Linked DNA regions of Homo sapiens: region 2 is linked to region 1. The links are contacts of gene promoters, found by promoter capture Hi-C in blood cells and fetal thymus (Javierre and others, 2016). All regions are on one chromosome and are shown on one strand. The core of a region is centred on a gene start or on the middle of the fragment in contact, and the rest is flanking DNA. Distances in the headings are between cores, read along the strand shown. Region 1 holds the start of ZFP30 (ZFP30 zinc finger protein). Region 2 holds the start of ZNF529 (zinc finger protein 529).

Region 1 (5,455 bases), core at 920-3,419:
TTTCCAAAGTGATTAAGAGCCAGTAAGAACTGCAGACAAAAACAAATGCTCATTTCACAGCAGCTACTTAATAACTTGCATTTACCCCTCCTCAGCTCCAATAAATAACTAATCATTAAATACCTAGCAATTTAATATTTAAATATTACATTGTTGCAAAATAACTTAAAAACCTTTATTGTAGTATACAAGATTCATATGTAACAATTTCTTGATGATTCTTATTTACAACAATACTTCTCAATATTACATTATACTTTTTTCTTATGACTAAATATAAACAAAATTCTTATTATTGCATAACATTCCATCACATGGAGTGTGATTTAACCATTTCCATACTGCTAGATATTAATTTTATAAAAGAACATCCCGAAAGTCATTACCAGTTATTTCATTTCTAGACAGTGAGAATCAATGTTGTTGGAGCTTATACAACTCTGATAATACCATGAAATGATAGACTTCCTCGCTCCACTGAAAAAATTAACCATTTACAAATACATACAACAATTCTGTATATAATCTTAAAATATCTTTGTTGCCCTGAAAGCTCATAAACAGAGTCCAAGGACTTATGTTACCAATCCCTGTTCTGGTCCACTGCAGGGTCTGGCTCATTTTCCTGCTTGCAAGCATCCATCATAATTACCTTCACATTTGCATTGGTCTTGGAAATACACAAAGCTGATAGGAAATGACTGAGCATCATCATTTTAATACCAGTAGCTAGTATGAATTAAGGACTCACTATGTGCCAGGCACTCTCCTAAGAGCTTCACAAATATTAATTCATGTAATCTTCAAAACAACACCGTAAAGTATACACTATTACAATTCTGAGGAAATTGAAGCACAGATTGCTTAAACTCGTTCAGATTTAAGTGGCAGTCAGGATTCAATTCCACTTAATCTAGGCTCGAAATTCTTAACCACTACACTACACCTCCCTCAGTCGATCCAAGATATACCCAAAATAAACTCATGCTGCCAGACCTCAAACCACATCTGGCTGGTACCAAAAACTTCCACTCATGAATTTCCTGGAAAAAAAGAAATCTCCACTCCTACCCCAGAACCATTAAACATATCTAAACCCTAAAAAACAAATAAAAACAAAGTATGAACATTAATCTCCAGCACGGGTATTTCCATATCATCAAGATCCTTAGAAAAACAGCGCTCACAGAGTAATTGAATTTGCAGCCTACAGTTAACTAACCATGTGTCTAACTATAGAACAGCATGAAGTGGGCACTAACAACGGGAAATCTATTAATTAGGTCCCCTGCCGTTAACTAGGTAGGGAAATCCTAAGGCCCAAATCAATGAATAAATAGATCATTCCTAAGCAGGATTTTAAACGGAAGGAACTCGAATGCATTTCACAGAAACAAAGCAGCAGCACGAACTCACAGGGAACCGGCTTTTAGAAGAGCAGCAGCGATTCGTTTCTCCTTCTCAAGCGCCTTCTCTGGAAACTGGCAGGGCTGGGGAAGCAGGCAGAGTTCAGGACACCCCAGGCTTTTCTTGACTCGATTGGAACCCACCCTCCACGCTTCCCTGGCCCCAACTAACCGCCACCTGCATGCACAAATGGAAACGACAGGGCAGAGGGTCAGCAGTCACCCGCGTCTGGGTTCGCAGCTCCGGGTACGCTGTAGTTCCGCACCCGGTTGCCCACGCCCGGGACCACCCACTGTGTCTTTTCGGAACTGTCCAGCGTGTCCTCCTAGACCCCAGACACCCACCCCAAATCTAGGTCCCAGCGTTTTGCAGGGGACCTTCATCCTGGGGCGTTCACCTCTGACTTCCCTCTTGGGCCTTTTCGCTACGGCCGAGCCTAAGTGGCTGAAGCGCGGACGAGGATGCGCGGGGCCTCGGTCTCCAACTGCACCACAGGCCGCACCCACGAACCTGGTCCGGCACAGTTACTACCGCCCGGGCCTCCAGGCCTCAGGGCTGCAGAAGCTCAGTCCCGGGAAAAAAAGCACACCGGCCTGAGGCTCCACAGGAACCTTTTCTCCACCTTGGCCCGGCCTGCAAAACCTGGCCCACTCCGCGCTCTTTTCCCTCAGAAAAGCAGCGGCCACAGTGGCGCCCGGCTCCCAGCCCCAGCCTCACCCGACTCAGAGGATAGCCCAGCCCTGGGAGTCAGCGGCGCCAGAATACGGGAGAGCGCCTGTCTCCGTCGCGAATGCGCTAGCGCGCGGGGGGGCGGAGGCAAGTCCCGCAGCTGCTCCGGGCCGGGAGGGGCGCGTGGGGCCGGGTCTCGGCGGGGATAGTCGGGCCGGGGAGACGGAGCCAGAGGGGCCGCAGTGTCCCTCGCCTCAGGCCTCTACCTGTAATGGCCGCCCCGTGACTGACCAGTGCCATTAAAGATAATCCAGGCCTGCTCCCCTGTGGACACTGCGGTCCAAAATTTAAAAAAACAATATTCCGCCTTTTTATTTTTCATTTGGTTCTCGGCTCGGAGACAGGCGGAGGCTGCGAGCCCCGCCCCGCCCCCAGCGACGCCTCACCGGAACCTTTGGAAATCGGCTTCTGCCTCGAGTGCGCAAGCGCGCGGGGGGCGAACGCTGGGGCCCTTCAGGGAGCAAGGGAGAAGTGTGGGGCCGCACCTGCCGAGGGGTCGGGAGGTTTGGAGGAGGGTGGAGGTTGGCTACAGGATCCCGATGGGGATGGAGTGTTCAAATCTAGGCCTGTAGCCGTGACCCTGGCGTGAGTTGGATGGAGGAAACCCCAGTATCGCGAGCCTGGACCAAGGCGCGGCGCGTGCTGCCTGTGGTGTTTGCTGAGTGACGGCCGCCGCGCCCCCGCGTACCTGGACCGAGTGCCTGGCCGCTGGCGGAGTAGTGTTTCCGTGCACGGGGCTGCTGCGTGCGCGTGTGCCGTTCTCTAGCGGGGGATTAGGATGGTGCCGCAGAGAAGGCTGCGCGGTGGTGCCTGACTCTGACGCTGGCTGTAGCGGGTCTCTGGGGTCTTTGCGGTTTGTGTCTGCGTTTGTGACGTACCTGACATCGGATCTGTGACTGTGGCTCTGCCTCATCCAGCGTTATTTCCAGAATCCTTCTGATAGGGCAGCGCTTCTGGTTCTGGTTTTCCATGGAGACGGTTTGTGGGTCCCTATGAAACTGAGTGTTGGGATTTTGATTATCTGCATCTGGCCCTTGTGTGCCCTCAGGACTGTGGTGTTAGGCAAGTAAAATAATTGCAGGAAAAAAAATTGGAAAGGAATAAGGTTGCTATTACTTCCAAATGATGGAATTGTAGGACTGTGTCAGAAAATTGAATAGGACACCATGAAACGGGAGGGAGAGGCATTTTATTTTCTTCCATACCTGGTCTTGGAATATTCTAACAAATGAGATTTGTTTTTTCCCCTTTGTTCCTGGATGAACTCTTGGATAAATTCAATGTCTCCAAGCATTCTTGGATAGTAAGTTTCTTTGATCTTTAGTTGAAAGATCAGCCTCATTTTCGTAGCTAAAAATACCTTTAGTAATAAAAATGTTCATTGTAATACTTCATTTAAAATATTTAAAACTTTCTTCTTTCTCCTTGATCTCTTCCAGATATCTCAAGTTTTGGTTAAGTGAATATGTGGAGTATATGTACTAATTACGTCAATTATTTTCTCTTTAAAACCAAGTACATTTCTTACATGAGTTTGTTTATCAAGGATTTATTGGTTTTCTTTGTACTTGTTGCTATTTTTTAGAAATGTTCCAACAGATATGTTAAATGTTCATCGATTATTTTTTCAGTGGTTCAAACATCGGAGTAGAATCTCTCTTCCATTCTGTGGCTGCAATTGGACTGTACAGTTGTCCTAAAATTTACCGTCATTGTTTTCCTAAGTTTGATTCTTGTTTCCTAGAATTCAGCTAATTTTTGCTAAAGTTCTTTTCCAATAAGTTCCTTAAGATGCATGTATTAAAGATGTTTTTTAGTTCTTTCATGTTTGAAATTTTTTTTTTTTTTGAGACGGAGTCTCACTCTGTTGTCCAGGCTGGAGTGCAGTGGTGCAATCTTAGCTCACTACAACCTCTGCCTCCCCAGTTCAAGCGATTCTTCTGCCTCAGCCTCCCGAGTAGCTGGGATTAAAGACGTGCACCACCACGCCTGGCCATTTTTTTTTTTTTTTTTTTTTTTTTATAGTTTAAGTAGAGATGGGGTTTCACCATGTTGGCCAGGCTGATTTCGAACTCCAGACCTCGGGTGATTCGCCCACTTAGGCCTCCCAAAGTGCTGGGATTACAGGCGTGAGCTACCGCGCTGGGCCTGAAAATGTCTTTATTCTGCCTTCACACTTTGCCTAGATTCAGAATTTGGAGGCGTCACTTCACAGTGTTCTAGTAGCTAATGTTGTCAAGTCTAATACCAATTGTTTTCTGTTCCTTTTTAATTTCATGTCCCACTCCCACCAACGCCCAGATACCTATTGCCACCTGTAATCCACAATGCACTTACATTTCATAATTTATGCACTTGGCATGTATGTTTAAACATTTTTTTCTGCTAGTTATAGGGCAGCACTTTATAGGTCTGAACATTTTTCTTCCTCTTTTTCTTTTTTGACAGTCCTCTATCCTTCTGAATTTTTGTTCTCTTGTCCTGGAATTTGTATTTCATGGAAGGACTTTTCATGAGCTGTATGTTTTGTCTCCTATTTTTTCTCTTTTTCTCTTACTTTGGGAAATTTTGTTGACTTTACAGTACAATTGTATTTATTTTTAATTTGATAATCATTTCTAATTTCCAAGAGCTCCTTTATATTCTGTAATTTTTATTTCTTCATAGCCTTTCGTTTTTATTATGGATGCAATAAAACCTCTAATCTCTCAGAGGGCAATTAGTTTAAAGTTTTCTGGTGCTTTTTTTTTTAATCTATTTTTGTCTTTTATATCCAAATCAAATTCCCCCTTTACAAAAAAGTTTGAATTGTTCTCTTTTTATACTGGATACTTCCCTGAAATGTGTGGTAATCCTTGCCTCTAGTCATGGAGTGAATCTTCTCAACCTGACTTCAGAGCCAGCCGTTTCATTGGGAGATGTGAGCTGTTCTTTAGTTCCTCCTTTGAGGACAGTGAGTTAGTGATGTCTGAGACCTCAAAGACCTCTCAGAGGCCCCCAGTTTTGAGTGTAGTTTTTCATTTAGTTTGCCTATGACTCAGTTCTGTCTTTCTTTATGCAGGTATACATCCTCTCTGGGTCATTTTATCCACAGATCACCCCCCTACCCCAATTTAGTGTATTTGATCACATAAGAGAGGAAAAGTAAAAAAGGTGAACAGCCAGTTTGTGTTCAAACTTTCAACCAATCTCCTGTTTCCAGATCCACATCTCTCCAGGGTCATGCTCTTTGGTGCCTGAGCTTCCAGGGGTTTATGCATTGAATTGCCTCATTAATAGAAATCTGACTCCTAAGCCCTTTCATACCAGAATTCTTGGA
Region 2 (5,455 bases), core at 1,555-4,054, 1.1 Mb before region 1:
TGTTGCTGGGAGAATTAGGTGCTGCCTGTGCAACTGCACTGGAAGCTTGCACCTGGTTTCTCCCGGTATTTGCCCTATGCAACTTTTCCCTTTGCTGATTTTAATGTGTACCTTTTCATTGTAATGAAGAATAACTATGAGCATAACAGCTTTTCTGAGTTCTGTGAGTCCTTCTCGCAAATCATTGAACCTAAGACAGTCAAATTGCCTTAATAGAACATTTGCAAATCTGGCTTTTAAAAAATTCATTTCAAGTGCCCATCAAAATTAACTTTATATTTTCATTGCTCTTGATTTACAGAAAATGTATGGGGAATACTAAGAATCTTCACAAACCAGCTTTTTTTCTTCCCTTGCAGATAAGGACTTAAAGTGCCAGGCCTTTATTAAATTCTCTAGGTTTATGTCCATATTAATGTATCCAGGCCTCATAAAGACCCTAAAGCACTGATATAATTATTGTTTACATTCTACAACAAGAAACTGTAAAGCGGAAAAATGAGTAACTATTAACCCCTTTGAAATGCAGTGTGAACATATAACTGAATTTTAAATTTTTTTCACTTTTCCTAAGCTAATTAACACAGGATTACCTTTAATTTTAATTAACTTACATTTAAATACAAAAGCAATATAAATGTTTTTCTATTAAACACAACTTTATTGTTTTGGTAGGACTATAATTCACCCTAAACACTGAAAATTTAGCATCCAAATTGAGACATGCAATAACAATAAAACATATACCAGATTTTGAAAACTTGGTATAAAGATATGAGTGTAAAGTATTTCAGTGTATTCATATCATTACATGTTGAAATAATATTTTGGATATATTGGTTTAAATAAAATACATTACCAAAATTAACTTCAGCTGTTTCTTTTTCTTTTTAAAATGTGTTTAAAGCCGGGCGCAGTGGCTCACGCCTGTAATCCCAGCACTTTGGGAGGATGAGGTGGGTGGATCACCTGAGGTCAGGAGTTCGATACCAGCCCAGCCAACATGATGAAACCCCTTCTCTACTAAAAATTCAAAAATTAGCCGGGCATGGTGGCGGGCGCCTGTAATCCCAGCTACTTGGGAGGCTGAGGCAGGAGACTCACTTGAACCTGGGAGGCAGAGGTTGCAGTGAACTGAGATCGCACCATTGCGCTCCAGCCTGGGCAATAACAGTGAAACTCTGTCTCAAAAAAAAAAAAAAAAGTGTCTAATGGAAATTTTTAAATTACCTAAGTGGCTTTATATTATATTTGCATTAGACTGTGCTGCTTTAGACTCAGACACCACTGTATCAGGCTGCCTCTCACAATCTACACCAATGTCACACTGCCAAATCTCAAAGAAGATTTGGTTGTCACCACTTAAATCCCCTCATGAATGTTCTGGAAAAACTCCCTGCCCTTGTTGACATAGCCTCTCTGCATAAAACTCCTATCATATTCCCACTCCTAAATGTCTCCAAAGCCAACTTTGTCACTTACTGATTAATACCTACCATCTCCTATCTTGCTTTGTTTGCAAATCAAGTCTGTAAATAAGATCAAAGGTATCTAGTGTGCCATTCTACTTAATCACTCGTCTCCTCCTTAACAAATTACATTCTAAAAAAAAGTTTTAACTTCTCCTCCAGGAGTTGTATTTCTATACCATAAAAATCCTTTGGAAAAAAAGAAGCACATGGGAGAATTGAATGATTTACCTAATGCATATGTGAATATTCAATGAAAGGGAAATGGGCATTTGGAAAGGCAATGGAGGACAAGGGGACCCATCTCTACGGTCCTGTTGTTAATTGGGAAGAGAAAACCAAGGGACCAGGTAAATGAACAAAAAAAAAAACTAACCTTGAGTTGGCCATTAGTACCAATGCTGTCTTCCACTTCAGGGGGCCTTCACTTGCAGAACTACATAACCAAGAGGGAGAAAGGACTCATGACATCCTGGACTGGTTAAATAAGAACACAGTGTTCACCACCAGAAAAGCCCATCACACACAACAAACACACCCAGATCGAAGAGGGAAACTAGAATACTGTCGACTCCTCCCCACATCCGAGAAAAAGGTACGACCAATGCCTAGCAGTTTCTAGGGAACACAGCTCAGGAAATACTGTAGTTCTTTAATGTATAAATGGCCTCCAAACTCATGCAAGGGGAGTTATCCCAGGAATGAATACTACACCTATGCCCTCCCCTTCACGTCTTCCCAGGAAACTTCATTTATCTATCTTATCTATCTATCTATCTATCTATCTATTATCTATCATTTATCTATCTTCTATATATCATCTATGTAATCTATCTATATGCGTGTGTGTGTGTGTATAAGACCTCACGAAGAGATTCCATCACAGACATCACAGAGTCGGAAAAATGACGCTTTACCCAAAACAAACTCCTACAGGCTCACGGAAAAAAACGAACAAACAAACAAACAAAAAAAAACAAAAAAACACTTCTACCCCGTTCACACTTATAGTTGGTCACAACAGTGCTGTCACACGATCACGTCACCGTAGACCAGGGTCACACGATAGACCCCGCCCCTACTCACCGTCCTGAGTCCGATCAAACAGCACCCACGGCACACACTAGGGTCTCCGTCTCTCACACACACACACCACAATGACGTCGTAAACAATAGCACTAACCACCATCGTCCGCAGCTCCCGCGTACAGAGGCCTCAGGCTCCCGGCTCCACGTGGACCGACCTCGCCCGGCAGCGCGGGGCCACCTCACCGCGAGCTCCTCCCGCAGCCCGGCCCGGGTCACCTCGACTCGCCAGGCTTAACTCAATAACCACAACACCGGAAAAGGAAGCAAAGGTCGAAGTTCATCCGCGGCCCTGAGGCCTGTGGGAAACGTAGTCCAACAACGAAAGAGCCCTGAAGCTCAAGCGGAGCCCGCTGGCCGCAGGGGCCGCACCACGCCCCAGACCCTGGAGTTTCCGGGTGCGCAGACCCTTGCCATCAGCAGAGGCTGCCGCTGCGCGTCCCCTAGGCGCGGAAGAGGCGGCTGGTGGTCCCTGACGGCAAGGTGAAGTCGAGGCAGTAATCGGGAACCCAGGTTGGGAGGACAGAATGGGGAACAGGAAGCTGGGGCGAGGGTGGTCTTGGGGGAGGTGGGGGGCCGCGGAATTCTAGGTGGCCCCTGCCTCACCTCTGGAAAGAACCGGAAGCCCGGGCCGGGGAGGGTGAAGGGAGTCGCGGACCCGGCTGCTCAGCCGAGGAGGAAACCCGGACCCCAGGCTGAGGGAGGCCGAAGAAGGAACTGGAGGGCCGGGCTGGGAAGGCCTGAAGCGGGTACAGCCTTTAGGCTGGGGAGGGTCGAGGGGAGAACTCGGAGCCTGAGTCGGGCGAGGTTTTGCTCCACTCTGGCTTCTAAGTGTGGGGGCCTCAGGATGTGACCCGTGGTCGTAAACCTGAGGGTGACTTGGAGTTTTTGTCCGTTTTGCACCATGAGAAAGGCCCCAGATGGAATCTGGCAGGTAGCGGCGGTTCAGTGTGTGTGTGTCTGCCTTAGGGCGTGTTTTACACTGTTGACGAAAAGACTCAGACTCTAAAGTATTTGAAGAGACTTATTCTGAGCTAAATATGAGTGACCAATGGCCGGTGGCCCAGCCCTCAGGAGATCTTGAGAACCTGTGCCCAGGGTGGACGGGATATATGTGGTTTTATACCTTTTAGGGAAACATGAGACACCAATCAAATACATGTAAAATGTACATTGATTCCCTCCGGAAAGGCGGGACAGCTGGAAGGTGGCTGGCCTTCCAGGTCATAGGTAGATTCAAAGATTATTTGATTGGCAATGGGTTGAAAGAGTTATTGACGTAAGACTTAGGAATGTCTCCAGGTAGCACGCTTCACAGAGAATAGATTGTAAATGTTTCTTTTCAGACTTGGGGTCTTTTCTATCAGTAATTCCAAAATGGAGGAGGGTATAATGAAGCATGTCCGACCCGCCCACCCCCGCCTTTCCATCATGGCTTTACTAGTTTTTCAGGTTAGGAATGCCCTGGCCAAGAGGAGGGGTCCATTCAAGATGGTCTGGGTGTGCTTAGGATTTTATTTTTGGTTTACAACACCAGCACCACCGGAGTTTGCTGGTGTCCTTTCCAGTCAGTTTCAAAGCAGAGACAGCCATAGTTCTGATTTGTGTCACTGTAACTGTCAGTTCCGGAATTCCATATTTCTCCTTTAGTTTACCCTAATGTGTGTGAGATTTCATGTGTAGTTCATTTTTCTTTTTCTGAACAGCACTCCATTGTGCAAATATACCACAATTTGTGTAGTCATTTTTCTGTTGTTGAACATTTGGCATATTTACAGGTTTTATACATTACGAATAAAGCTGGCACGTTTCCATTTCTCCTGGGCAAATATTTAGAAGAAAAGTTGCTGGGTAATTGGTAAGTTTACATTTAACTTTCCAAGAAGCTGATAAGCCTTTTAGAATGATTAGTTGTGATTTGTGTGTGTGAGATTGTGTAACTGGAGTAAGTAGTTTCTGAGTTTGCTTTGCTATGTTTGTATGGAATTATAAGATGGGCTCAACAGGGTTGTGAATGTCATGTAGGATCCATAGGATTGTGGCTTTGTGGAGTAGGTAAGATCACAGGAAACTGAATGTGTCTGTGCTAATTGTTATTTATCATGGTTTTGTGTGTACATTCCATGATAACTGAAAATGGATCACTATGTAAGTGATGTTAATGACTGAAGAACTCTGTGTGTCTGGTGTATTTCATTTTGCTTGCAGAATTATGACAGTTTCTAATAACTAAAATATCACAAGCATTGGAAACTAGGAGGTAAAATTATAATTTCTAGATGACAGGGTTGCATTACCTGGAAACATCATACAAACTAAATCCAATATGTTGAAATGAGGACTCCATATGTAGCACAGAAGTAAAATACTTTCATCCCTACCACTTTGAATAGTTATATAGATTTGAGGTCCCCTCCCACCCATCCCCCCGCCTCCTGCTTGCCCCTGGATGAAGTTGAGGGTGATTTAATGCCCTCCTAAATCACTTTAAGCCAAGTAAAAGTACTTGAAATACTAAAAATCACAAAGTCAGCTTTGTAGTAATTAAAATAGTCATTTTCTAATTAAAATATTTACTGTAAAAATCAAATTTCAAACTTCATTTAAAAGAAAAATTTCTTTCAACTGTCTAGAGCCTACAGTGTAATTACTTTCTTCTCTACTTCCCCAACCGGTATTACTAAATAGGTACTATCTCGCATAATGATTAGGATTTAATAGTAAATGCTTATTAGTTAACCAGGCAGGTTTAACCACGTTATTATAGAAACTCTAAGAGGTTTCACATGTGTTTTTTTTTTGTTTTGTTTTGTTTGTTTGTTTTGAGATGGAGTCTCGCTCTGTCACCCAGGTGGGAGTGCAATGGCGTCGTCTTGGCTCCCTGCGACCTCTGCCTCCCG

The links. Contacts are between HindIII fragments. The CHiCAGO score rates a contact against its expected background, and 5 or more counts as called.
Region 2: the fragment with the promoter of ZNF529 here is called in contact with the fragment with the promoter of ZFP30 in region 1 in 1 of 17 cell types (non-activated CD4 T cells); the score reaches 8.0 in non-activated CD4 T cells.

What each region holds. Positions count from the first base shown.
Region 1 is chr19:37,653,296-37,658,750 of GRCh38, forward strand. ZFP30 (ZFP30 zinc finger protein) reads right to left here and starts at 2,170. Exons shown (of 6, transcript NM_001320669.3): 1 at 2,125-2,170; 2 at 1,417-1,584. RefSeq lists a silencer at 2,126-2,315 and enhancers at 2,339-3,326, 2,726-2,775. The HindIII fragment of the contact is 13,390 bases long and covers 1-5,455 here.
Region 2 is chr19:36,570,488-36,575,942 of GRCh38, forward strand. It overlaps ZNF529 (zinc finger protein 529), which reads right to left and starts at 2,805. Exons shown (of 5, transcript NM_020951.5): 1 at 2,653-2,805; 2 at 1,846-1,905. The coding sequence starts at 1,859. It overlaps ZNF529-AS1 (ZNF529 antisense RNA 1), which reads left to right and starts at 2,862. Exons shown (of 5, transcript NR_173348.1): 1 at 2,862-3,068; 2 at 4,334-4,413. RefSeq lists an enhancer at 2,862-2,951. The HindIII fragment of the contact is 11,229 bases long and covers 44-5,455 here.